2 separate regions of the Homo sapiens genome follow, and region 2 is linked to region 1. The links are contacts of gene promoters, found by promoter capture Hi-C in blood cells and fetal thymus (Javierre and others, 2016). All regions are on one chromosome and are shown on one strand. The core of a region is centred on a gene start or on the middle of the fragment in contact, and the rest is flanking DNA. Distances in the headings are between cores, read along the strand shown. Region 1 holds the start of SELPLG (selectin P ligand). Region 2 overlaps ABTB3 (ankyrin repeat and BTB domain containing 3).

Region 1 (5,334 bases), core at 2,835-5,334:
TTTCTCACCGTGTATGGCAGGTAGCATAATACCTCCTTAATATTTGCTACAGTAAATGTATTATACAACAATAAAAATGACATATGTGGAAGCCCCTCCCACGGAGGGATGATTTCATCCTCTCACTATCTGGTGACCTCATTCCTCCTCACCCCTGTGTTCACTGGCTCTAACGGTGCCATCACACTGATTAGCAAGCAAGGCCCGGAGCGGCGGGATCACTCCCAGGCCCCACCTTCCACCTCTCCTCTTCCTGGAAGGCCAAAAAACAGTCCCACAGAAGTGGGGCCAGGGCAGGGCTCCGACAGAGGCGTCTCCAGTGACCACGTCCTATTTGTCTCAACACTTGCCTAACAGAGTAGGTCAGAGACTGCTCGTTTGCCTCTTTCGCCCTAAAACCAGGCTGCTTCTGGCCCAGGCCCCATCTAGACCCCATATGGGCCCCATCTAGGCTGTGTGGAGGAGCAGGCTGCAGGGGGCCCAGACTCCAGCTCCAGAGAACCCGCCGTGTGGCCGCCCTGAGCTGCTCAGGAAAGATCCTCGTGGGGCTCCACGCCGCTAGGAACCTTGCACTGAGAATCCTGAAACTGGTGGTCAGAGCGGGCAGGATCTTGGAATGCTAAAATTCAAAAGACTGAGCATCTCAGGGTTTGGGTCAAGTAGTCACCAAGAGAAGGAAAGACCCCAGATAACTGAGGCACAGGCAGCAGATCTAAGTCTGGGTAGACAGGACAGGCCCTGCCCTGCCCTGCTGTGCCCTGGGAGTCACATCAAACCAGGTCAATCCCCAGCTCTGTCCCTTAGAAGCTGTGTGACCTGGGGCAACTCACCTCACCTCTCTGAGCTGTGGGTTCCTTAGCTGGAATACAAGGACAATGGTAGCACCCGCTTTTTATGGGGTTGTTGTGGGTTGAAGAGGGCCAGGGAAATGCTGAGTCCTCCCAGAAGCCTTTCCAGATTGCCCCAGGCACGATTAGTCACCTCCCGTGTTTAAATCATTTCTGCTGTTCATTTATTTTCTAAAAATGTATTCACATTGACTCCTAAACTTCCAGAAGGCAGGAACCACAGCTGTCTTGCTGATCAGGCCACAGGCCCAGGATTCAGCCGATGGGCAGGCACACACCCCTCGCAACACTCGCCCCAGTGGCTGGCAACCACTGTGGCTGTCTGCTCTGCTGCCCCCACCAGACCACAAGTTTTTGGAGGGCAGGAGCTCTCCTGGGTCTCCTGGCATCCCCAGGGGCCTCACTAAATGCCTCTGCAGAAGAGGACATGTGACTGAGGCAGGGGAACGTGCACAGAACTGCACAGCACGTGCTGTCTTCACACTTTTCACACCACATTTGCCAGCTGACACTTTGCAACCTCTTTCCGTCATCTACCTCAACTCACATCAGGGAGTCTCTGTAGACATTTTTTCCCACTTATCATCGCCCTTATGAAAGGTTTATTTATTTATTTAATTTTAGAGATAGGGTCTTTCTCTGTTGCCCAGGCTCGACTACAGTGGTGCAATCATAGCTCACTGCAGGCTTGAACTCCTGGGCTCAAGCGATCCTCCCAAGTAGCTAGGACTACAGGTGCATGCCACCAGACCCGGCTACTTTTAAATTTTTTGTAGAGATGGGTTTTCCCCATGTTGCCCAGGTTGGTCTCAAACTCCTGGGCTCAAGCAATCCATCTGCTTCAGCCTCCCAAAGTGCTGGGATTTATAGGCATGAGCCACGGTGACCAGCCCTCCTCATGAAAAGTTAATAGCACAGATATGCTGTATATCTGTTTAATGTTTGGTGGCTTGCAAACCACAGTGTTAGTTGAGATTTTTTTGTTACACCCCCCTCCCTACCCTCCACCCCACCAAGAACCAAGTTACACCTGTTGGAACCCAAACTTGCTGGCCTGATCCAGAGGCAGTAAGGTACTTGGCACAAATGAATTCAATGAGACCTACATCTGGTTAGTTGAACAACTGTCTTTAAACAGTTTTCTAAACACCCCTGTGTAGACAGACAGATTAACAAACACAGACCCCCAACACACACACACCAGCCATCTTATCTCCTTCTAGACCACTGGCCCCCACTGCCATCTTCCTGTTCAAGTTCAGCAAAGGAAGCCGAGACACAGGCCTAGGGTCACCACGAACTCCATGGGCATCCTGCAGCCAGAAGCCATGCCGCCAGAGGCAGCTGCTTCTCCCCTTCAAGCCTCAGTTTTCTCATCTGTAAAAGGGGCACTGTCCACCCTCCAAGGTTCTCGGATGATTGATTCCCCAGCTCCTCTGAATGCCCCACTCTGGGCCCAGCCTAGCAACCCAGCCCTTCCGCTCTCTGAGGTTTAACTCCCCTGGCTGCTGGCCAAGCCTGCTGAGGGAGGCATCAACCACCCAGGGCACGGCCTCGGAAGAGACTCTGGGGCTGTCTGAGGGCCTGGGAGCCACCTTCTGAGGCCCCGGCCCACTGAGGGGCCTGGCTCTGGGGGCCTCAAAGTCAGAGATGGAAAAAAAAGGAAAACAGAAGAAAGAGGAAAGAGGAAGAGAATTCCAGGCAACAGAAGCCCAGATATCGACAATATGGGGTGTGTGTGTGTGTGTGTGTGTGTGTGTGTGTGTGTGTGAATGTGTGTACAGCAGGGCACAACTGGCCCCCACCATTTCCTTTTAGTGTCCTGAAAGTATCTCAAATACAAACTAATAAGAGTATTCTAATTTTTTTTTTTTTGAGACAGGGTCTCACTCTGCCACCCGGGTTGGAGTGCAGTGGCACAATCTCGGCTTACTGCGACCTCCCCCTCCCAGGTTCAAGTGATCCTCCCACCTCAGCCTCCCAAGTAGCTGAGACCACAGGCATACACCACTACACCTAGCTAAGTTTTTGTATTTTTGGTAGAGACGAGGTTTCACCATGTTGCCCAGGTTGGTCTAGAACTCCTGAGCTCAGGCCAACCACCTGCCTCGGCCTCCCAAAGGGCTGGGATTACAGGTGTAAGCCACTGCACCCAGCCAAATATTCTAATTATTATTATTATTATTGTTTTCCCTTTTGCTAACAATAGTATCTTAATTCTAATATTTTAATAGTTTGCCACAGACAAGTGTCATTTCCTCAGTCTTATAAAAAGTGGGAAGAATGCATCTTTCTCTGAAAAGAACTTTTTTATGCGTCCATAACATGCAGCTTCAAGAGAAATCCTGCACTCCCCCTACTTTCTGGAGTCTTCCAGACCTAATCTCAGCTCTGCCCCTAAACAAATCCCTTCACCTCTCCCGACCTCAGTTTCCCATCCAGGAAAGGAGAGGATAAGATCATTTCTAGGGAAACACTCATGGTTTCTCTGATTTTCAAAATCAGAATGCCGCCAAGCCAGACGCTGCAGGCAAACTGGCCAGGGAGGGAAGTAAGTTAATGGGAGGCTGGGGCTGGTGGGTCACACCTGTAATTTCAGCACTTTGGGAGGCCAACGCAAGAGGCTTGAGGCCAGGAGTTTGAGACCAGCCTCGGCATCAAAGTGAGACCCCATCTCTAGGAAAGGTAAAAATATTAGCTGCATGCGGCGATGTGCGCCTGTAGTCCCAGCTACTCAGGAGGCTGAGGTGGGAGGATCACTTGTGCCCAGGAGTTTAAGGCTGCAGTGAGCCATGATTGTGCCACTGCACTCCAGCCTGGGTGACAGAGTAAGACCCTGTCTCAAAAAAAGAAGGAAAAAAAAAGTTGGCAGGAGCAGGATTCAGAAGAGTCACAGAATAAGGCCACAGACTCCAGGAAGACTTTAGTCTTGAGTCGGAGGAGCCTCAGTTTGCCCTCCCCAGGTGCTGCAGCTCAAGAAGGGCCTGGCGGTCCTACCCGGGCCTGCCAGCAGCTATAAGGCAGGCCCTTGGCCCATGGGGACCTCCAGCCACTCCCTGTGGTTTTGCAAGCCAGCACTTACCACCGTGCTCAGCAGAGCATGGGACAGCTGCCTCGTGGGCCCAGAAGAAGTGGCTTCTCTGCTTTAGTGACAAGGTCCCAGCCCACGCTGCCAGGCACTGCTGTGGCACCCCCTGCGGCAGTCCCGGATCCGAGCAACCCCCAATGGCTGTGTGTGGAAGGAGGAAGCGAGAATGTGGTTACTTAGGCAGGGCCATGTGACAGCCCACACCCCATTGTTTGTGACAGCTTTGGTGACAACATTGATAAAGACAGGGTGGTAGTGGGGCACCTCCTAGGTCTGACACTGTTCTTGGGTTCCCATAACTGTGAAAACACTGAGAACCAAGTAGAAGCTTTCTGGGGAGAAGTTCTTCGGTTTTGGGTGGGGCCCAAACTGAGAAAGGCCACAGCATTACTTCAGCAGCAATGGACAGTCGGGGCCAGAGGGAGCCCCCTGAAGGACAGGAGTGACCAGAGAAAAAGGAGAATGGTCTCGCTTCTTGCCCAAGATTGGTGGGGCGTGGGGAGGGGTGGGAGGTGGTCAGGGAGCAAAAAACACAAAATATGAACCTTCAAAGGGTTTGCAAATATGGTGTATTTCTTCTCGCAGGACTCAAAACACTCTCTGTAGATGCACAGCACAGGCCCTTTCAGCTGCAACCAAGAGCCTCTCTAGGGAGCTGGACTACAGATACCACAAGGGCAAGTCCTGCTTATCTTATTTCTTCATCCTAAATTTGTTCATTTGACCAACTCTGGCACTCCAGACTGCATGCCCTGAGGTCTAAAGGCCAGCAATTCTGGGCTGTGGCCCTCTGGTAGCCCTCCATCCAATGGGGAGGCCAGCGAGTAAACAATTCGGTGGAACATCATGCCACAATGACACAGCGCAGTGAGTGCCATCCTGCGGTGAGCAAGGGAGGGGCCTCTCCTTCCATCCTGGGTGGGGGAGGGAGGTTAACAGGAGGAGCTTCCAAGAAGTGGCACTTGAGATGACAAGCCAGGTGGGCATCCCAGGCAGAGAGCACAGCAGAGGCAAAGGCTGGGAGGCCTAAGAATACCCAGACACTTCCAGAAGGGAGGGAATAGGGGGGTCTCCCAGGATCTGCCCTGCGGCTTTGCACCAGGCAAGGGCTCAGGACATGCACAGAAAGATACTCATATCTTGCCTTGCACAAAGTTGTTTTTTTTTTTTTTTTTTGAGATGGAGTTTCACTCTTTTTGCCCAGGCTGGAGTGCAATGGCACAATCTCGGCTCACCGCAACCTCCGCCTCCCGGGTTCAAGCTATTCTTCTGCCTCAGCCTCCCGAGTATCTGGGATTACAGGCATGTGCCACCACCCCGGCTAATTTTGTATTTATAGTAGAGATGGGGTTTCTCCACGTTTGTCAGGCTGGTTGGTCTTGAACTCTCGACCTCAGG
Region 2 (5,334 bases), core at 794-3,293, 1.3 Mb before region 1:
TGGGGAGAAGGCATTGGGCTTTGTATGTGCTTCTTCAGAATGCGGGGATTCACCTGCAAAACCTGGGAGCTTTGGACTGGATTGCTCTTTGTTTGAAACCCTACCTCCACCAAAAAGCACAGAGGGGCTTAATTTCCTTCCTGGTGGCTCCCATGACAATCATCTTTTACTCTTTGCTGCCCCTGACTCCCAGCTCCTTACCCACCTTCTGGGCCTGGAACCTCTTCTTTTTTCTCCCTCAGTATTTCCTTTGGAAGGCTCTAGTGTGGAAATCTGGTCACCCTGCCCTACTTCTGCCTTTGCCATTATCCTGAAGTTGTGAGTTTGGACAAGTCACTTTACATCTTTGGGCCTCAGTTGCCTCATCTGTAAAATAGGGGGCTAGATATGTAATACACCCCCAGGTCCTCTTGTAGCTCTGTGGTAGTTGCTTCTATATTTTTTCAAATAGGTTTTACTTTTATGAACCTTAACAACTTTTAAAAACAGTTTTTGTGTTTACCCTTTTTGGAGGAAGTATAATTTAAGGAAGGAGAAGACCACAGAGTTGGTTTTGGGCAGGGTGAGTGTGTGACGGTTGGGGTTTGCTGCCATCACAACCTCTCCCACACCACAGCGCTTAACTCTTGGGTTTCGGGGCCCCTTCAGCCTCCTCTGGGTATGAGATATACTATGATTTCATTGTGATCTCTTCATGCCTTTTCTTTGGGCTTGTTTAAAATGGCAGGTTGAATATGCAGAAGAGTTAAAGAATGAGTGATTAATTCCTTAGGTATTGGAATCATACATTAAACATCAAACCTATTTCTTAAACTATTTTGTACGGAGTCTTTCTGATCTGCAAGCCTTATTAAGGACAACATACCTTACATAATAGATTTTCCCTCCTTTAACTTGGTAGCATCATTTATTTATTCATTTGTGAATTCATTTGTTTATCGAAACTTATTACAGTTGCCGAATTCTAGGGTCTGAGCAAGTGCTGGGTAAGAGGTAATAACAGCTAACATGTATCCAGCAGGGCTCTGTATATTGACCCATTTGATCCCCAGTACCCATTATATACAGGAAGAAACTGAGGCATAGGGAACTTAAGTATCTTGCTTATTTAAATGCAGATAGCCTGGCTCCAGAGTCCGTACTCTTAACTCCTGTCTGTATGACTCTTTAGTGACAGATGAGTTCCCTGCCTTCAGGCATCCCACCTGCCCTTTATTACCCACACAGGTGAACAGAGACCCTTCCTGTCATATAATTCCTGAATTATATACTTTTTGTTCCTATCAAATGGAACTGGGCAGAACTGGATTTTTCATGTTTTTCTATCCCCTGCTAAGCCTAAGAGAGGCCCTAGTACACAGTTGGAGCTTATTAGATACCTTTTTGAGTTGAGCAAGCTATTGTACTGTATTATACAATGATGTCCTGAAAGAAGCTATTGCTTTTTGAGTTTCTTGAATCATCTTTGCAAGTTTTTCTACTTTGTTGTTATTGTTGTTCTAAAGAAGGGGTCTCACTATGTTGCCCAGGCTGGCCTTGAACTCCTGAGCTCAAGAAATCCTCCCACCTCAGCCGAGTAGCTGGGACTACAGGCAGGCACTGGCTCCAAGTTCTTCTTCCTTGGTTGCCCCTTCTTACTGCCATTTCTGTACCTGTCCACCTTTCTAATTTGCTGCTGCTAAACTGCCCAGGCTAAGGAATTGTGAAACTAGTCACATGGGACTGGATTCAGAAAAAAAAGATAATTGGCTCTAAAGCAAAAGAAGGCTTAGGGGCTCTCGAAAATCACATCCATGGGTTTGCTGTGGGCATGAACTTTGTGGTTATGTAAAAACTTTTCAGAACTGGAGTTTTGTGTTGATTTTCAGCTGTTTTGAAGAGCCGGGGAAACAGCTAAGGGACCCCATTGATGTTTCTGTGGAGTTTTAAAAATTTGACTTGATTGAGCTAAATAAGGAGGGGGCAGAAGTACTTCACTGTGCCTTTGTATGTGCTAGTCATTGTACCTTAAACTCCTTTAGAGCTGGCCAGTTCCTACTCATCCTTGAAGACTTGGCTTCAAGAATGAGTTGGTCTTCCTGGCTTCCTTGTGAGGGCTTCCTTGATGCAACCCCTTCTCCATTCTTATTCATCTCTGTGTCTCCTTCCATATCACTCAGCACAGTGCCTGGCACTTTGTATAACAGATACTCTCTACTGCTTGTTAAACGAATATAACCAGCTCATTCAATTTTAGGCATTTAAAATTTGCCTATCACCTGTAAAGGCAGTTGTTAAGAGAATGGCCTCTGGTGTTGGACCTCTAGGATTTGAATTTCAAGGCTGCCATTTTCTAGCTGTGTGTTCTTAGGTATGCGACCCAACCTCTCTGTCCTCCAGTTTCCTCAGCTGTAAAACAGAGGTAATAATTACAAGGATTAAATGAGATTATGTGTCTAAGCCTATTATAATCTGGTGCTGACACATGGTAGGTGCTAAAATGATGATGATAGTTGTGATAATCCAGGCACAATGGTATCTCATCTCTATCACATCCAGATTAATTCATTCCCACATGCTTAGGGTGGATGGAGCCAACAAGGCACAGAATTTTAACTGGATCCTCCTTTTTATTATAGCACCAAGTAACTCAGTACACCCACCTCAAGGATTGATGCCATGGGCACAGCCCTGTGGCCAGGGTCACAAAAAGATTGTTTTGGTCAAAGGAAAATAGCTTATTTTGGGGAGGCTGAGGCAGGAAGATTGCTTGGGGCCAGGAGTTTGAGACCAGCTGAAGCAACATAGTAAGATCTCAGCTCTACAAAAAATAAATAAATAAAATAAAATAAAATAAAATTAAGTTAGCTTATTTTATTTGCTGTACTTTAAACTTCAATGATATCTACCTTTAGTGAAGAGGCACCAGGAAACTTTCTGGATGTAGTCCCTTATGTTAATTGGGATGTGGGTTCAGAGGTATATGCATTTGTCAAACGGGGTTTCACCATGCTGGCCAGGCTGGTATCTAATGGTAAACCTAGTATTTGTGCATTTTACTGTATTGTGAAATATACTTCAGTTAAAAAAAAGACACACCAAAAAAAAAGCCATAGGCATTCTTGAATTAAATTTTGTTTTAAATGTACAATTTGAAGGGCAGACCAGAAGAGGCAGTATGGAATGATGAAAAGGAAAGGGAGAAAGACCTTACGCTTAGATCTAACCCCAAATTTTCACTCTACCATTCTCTAGCAAGTGACTTAATTTTGCTGAACTTAGTTTTCTCATCTGTACAGTGAGGATTACAAAACAAAAGAAGATGTATTTTAAAAAGGAAGAAAACCCAAACCGAACGCAATGGGCGATTACAAAGATTAAATCAGATACAGTTTATAAAAGCACCTGCCACATAGTAGGCACTCGATAATAATGGCTTCCTCAAAAAACAGATTATTCAGGCTGGAGATAACAATAATACTTGTGGGATTTTGAATAGTCTCTTTCATTTCAGGGATCCCCAATCACTTAATAAACATTAATTAACACAAGCCCTCACCTGTCAGCACGGGCTTGGAGGGTAGGTTGGTTTTCAGGTCTCTTGCTTTTCTATTGTCTCTGCACAAAATGCTTGCTCAGCCGTTTTCCTGTCCCTAAACTGGTCATGCTGTTCTGTTGAGCAGTGTTGCTGTGTTGGACCAAAAATGTCACAGAAGGAACCCATCTTCTTAAGAGGAACAACAAATGCTATCTCAAGAGCCAGCTGTAGCAGTATCTGTGCTCACAGAGCACCTTTTTAATTAACTGGCTTGATGTAAATTAAAACTTGGAATTTGGGTCAGTAGAGGGTGATTTGGTTTTCTGTGCAGACTTGCTAGTTCAGTGCTGGGGCATTTGCAAGTTGGGTGTTTTCCTGAAACATAAAATAAAAATAACAAAATAAAAACAATGAAGGACTAACCTGAAGACCTAGGGTCAAGGGTGGAGTTGATGAACTTTGAATAGAAGGAAGGCCTCTAATTCTGAGTCTGTTAGTATTTGTGACCTTGAGCCAGGCACCAAACTCATTATTACCAGACTTATTATCTACTGAGAGGTAAATACAAAATAGTAATTGACTCTGGAGTCAGGCACACCTGTAAGCTGCAGTTTCCCTATCTGTAAAATGGGTATTATAATAAACAGCTCTACTTGTATAGCTTATTATATGCCAGGCACTATTTTAAGAGCTTTATGTATTATAATCATTATAGTTACATCAGCTATGATTATTATTATTATTGAGATGGAGTTTTGCTCTTGTTGCCCAAGCTGGAGTGCAATGGTGCAATCTCAGCTCACTGCAACCTCCACCTCCCAGGTTCAAGATATTCTCCTGCCTCAGCCTCCTGAGTAACTGGGATTACAGGCATGCGCCACCATGCCCAGCTAATTTTGTATTTTTAGTAGAGAAGGGGTTTCACCATGCTGGCCAGGCTGGTTTCGAACTTCTGACCTCAGGTGACCCACCCATCTCCGCCTCCCAAAGTGCTGGGATTACAGGCATGAGCCCCCGTGCCTAGCCTCATCAGCTATTATTAAAGACAGTTCAGAAATCTCAGTAGCTTAACACAATAGAAATTCATTTCTTATACACTTAAACTCTGATTGGGAGAGGAGTGGGGTTGGAGGAGGTAGGAGGGTCATTTAGGTACCAAGCTTGATTAATGGAGAGTTTGCCTTTTTTATCTTCTACGTGTGGCCTTCAGTACCTTTCTTGGGCATTCATCCAGCCAGTAGGTAGAGGGAGACAGTGAGTGTGGAGGAGCTTAAGAAAGGTGGTACAGGCTAAGCCTGGAGGGACTTAACGTTGCTTGTGTTCACATATCATTGACCAGATGTATCATTGGCTCTCTGACCACCAATACATGTGTGCCTCCTTCTTCCTATGCACAAAACACATTCTCTTTTCCCTAAGGGAGGAACCCACATTTTTTCTGATCCCTGCTTCCAACTTAAAGTTCAGAGTCATGGATAGTCCTATCCATGAAGCTGAGTGTGGCACCTCACCATGGTCCAGGGACCCATGAGGCAAAACAAACATATTATCTGCCACTCTGCATTCATATCCCACATCTGAGCAGGGTGGGATAACCATCATGAAACTCCCATTTGGAAAAGATAATCATGGAAGGTACATACACAGCAGTCACTGGTCCTCAGTAGTGATGAAATCTTGCCAAACAAGCATTGTGGGGTTGTATCCTAGCAGTGGGTGAAGTTCCTGGATTAGGTCCTGATTCTTCTCCTGATGGGAATTTACTAGTTCATTGTTCTCCACCCTCTCAGCTGTGCTGGTGGGAGGATTTTCTTTGT

Evidence for each region. Contacts are between HindIII fragments. The CHiCAGO score rates a contact against its expected background, and 5 or more counts as called.
Region 2: a contact is called between a fragment that was not itself captured here and the fragment with the promoter of SELPLG in region 1, in 2 of 17 cell types (naive CD8 T cells and naive CD4 T cells). The highest score is 7.8, in naive CD8 T cells.

The regions. Positions count from the first base shown.
Region 1 is chr12:108,629,810-108,635,143 of GRCh38, forward strand. SELPLG (selectin P ligand) reads right to left here and starts at 4,085. Exons shown (of 2, transcript NM_003006.4): 1 at 3,931-4,085. It overlaps LOC105369968 (a long non-coding RNA gene), which reads left to right. Exons shown (of 3, transcript XR_007063449.1): 2 at 4,522-5,334. RefSeq lists enhancers at 1,999-2,148, 3,557-3,606 and a silencer at 4,847-4,896. The HindIII fragment of the contact is 5,781 bases long and covers 1-4,262 here.
Region 2 is chr12:107,321,662-107,326,995 of GRCh38, forward strand. All of the region lies in intron 1 of ABTB3 (ankyrin repeat and BTB domain containing 3), which reads left to right. Among named protein-coding and RNA genes, the nearest start is that of ABTB3, 5.9 kb to the left of the region's middle. The HindIII fragment of the contact is 5,263 bases long and covers 1-4,675 here.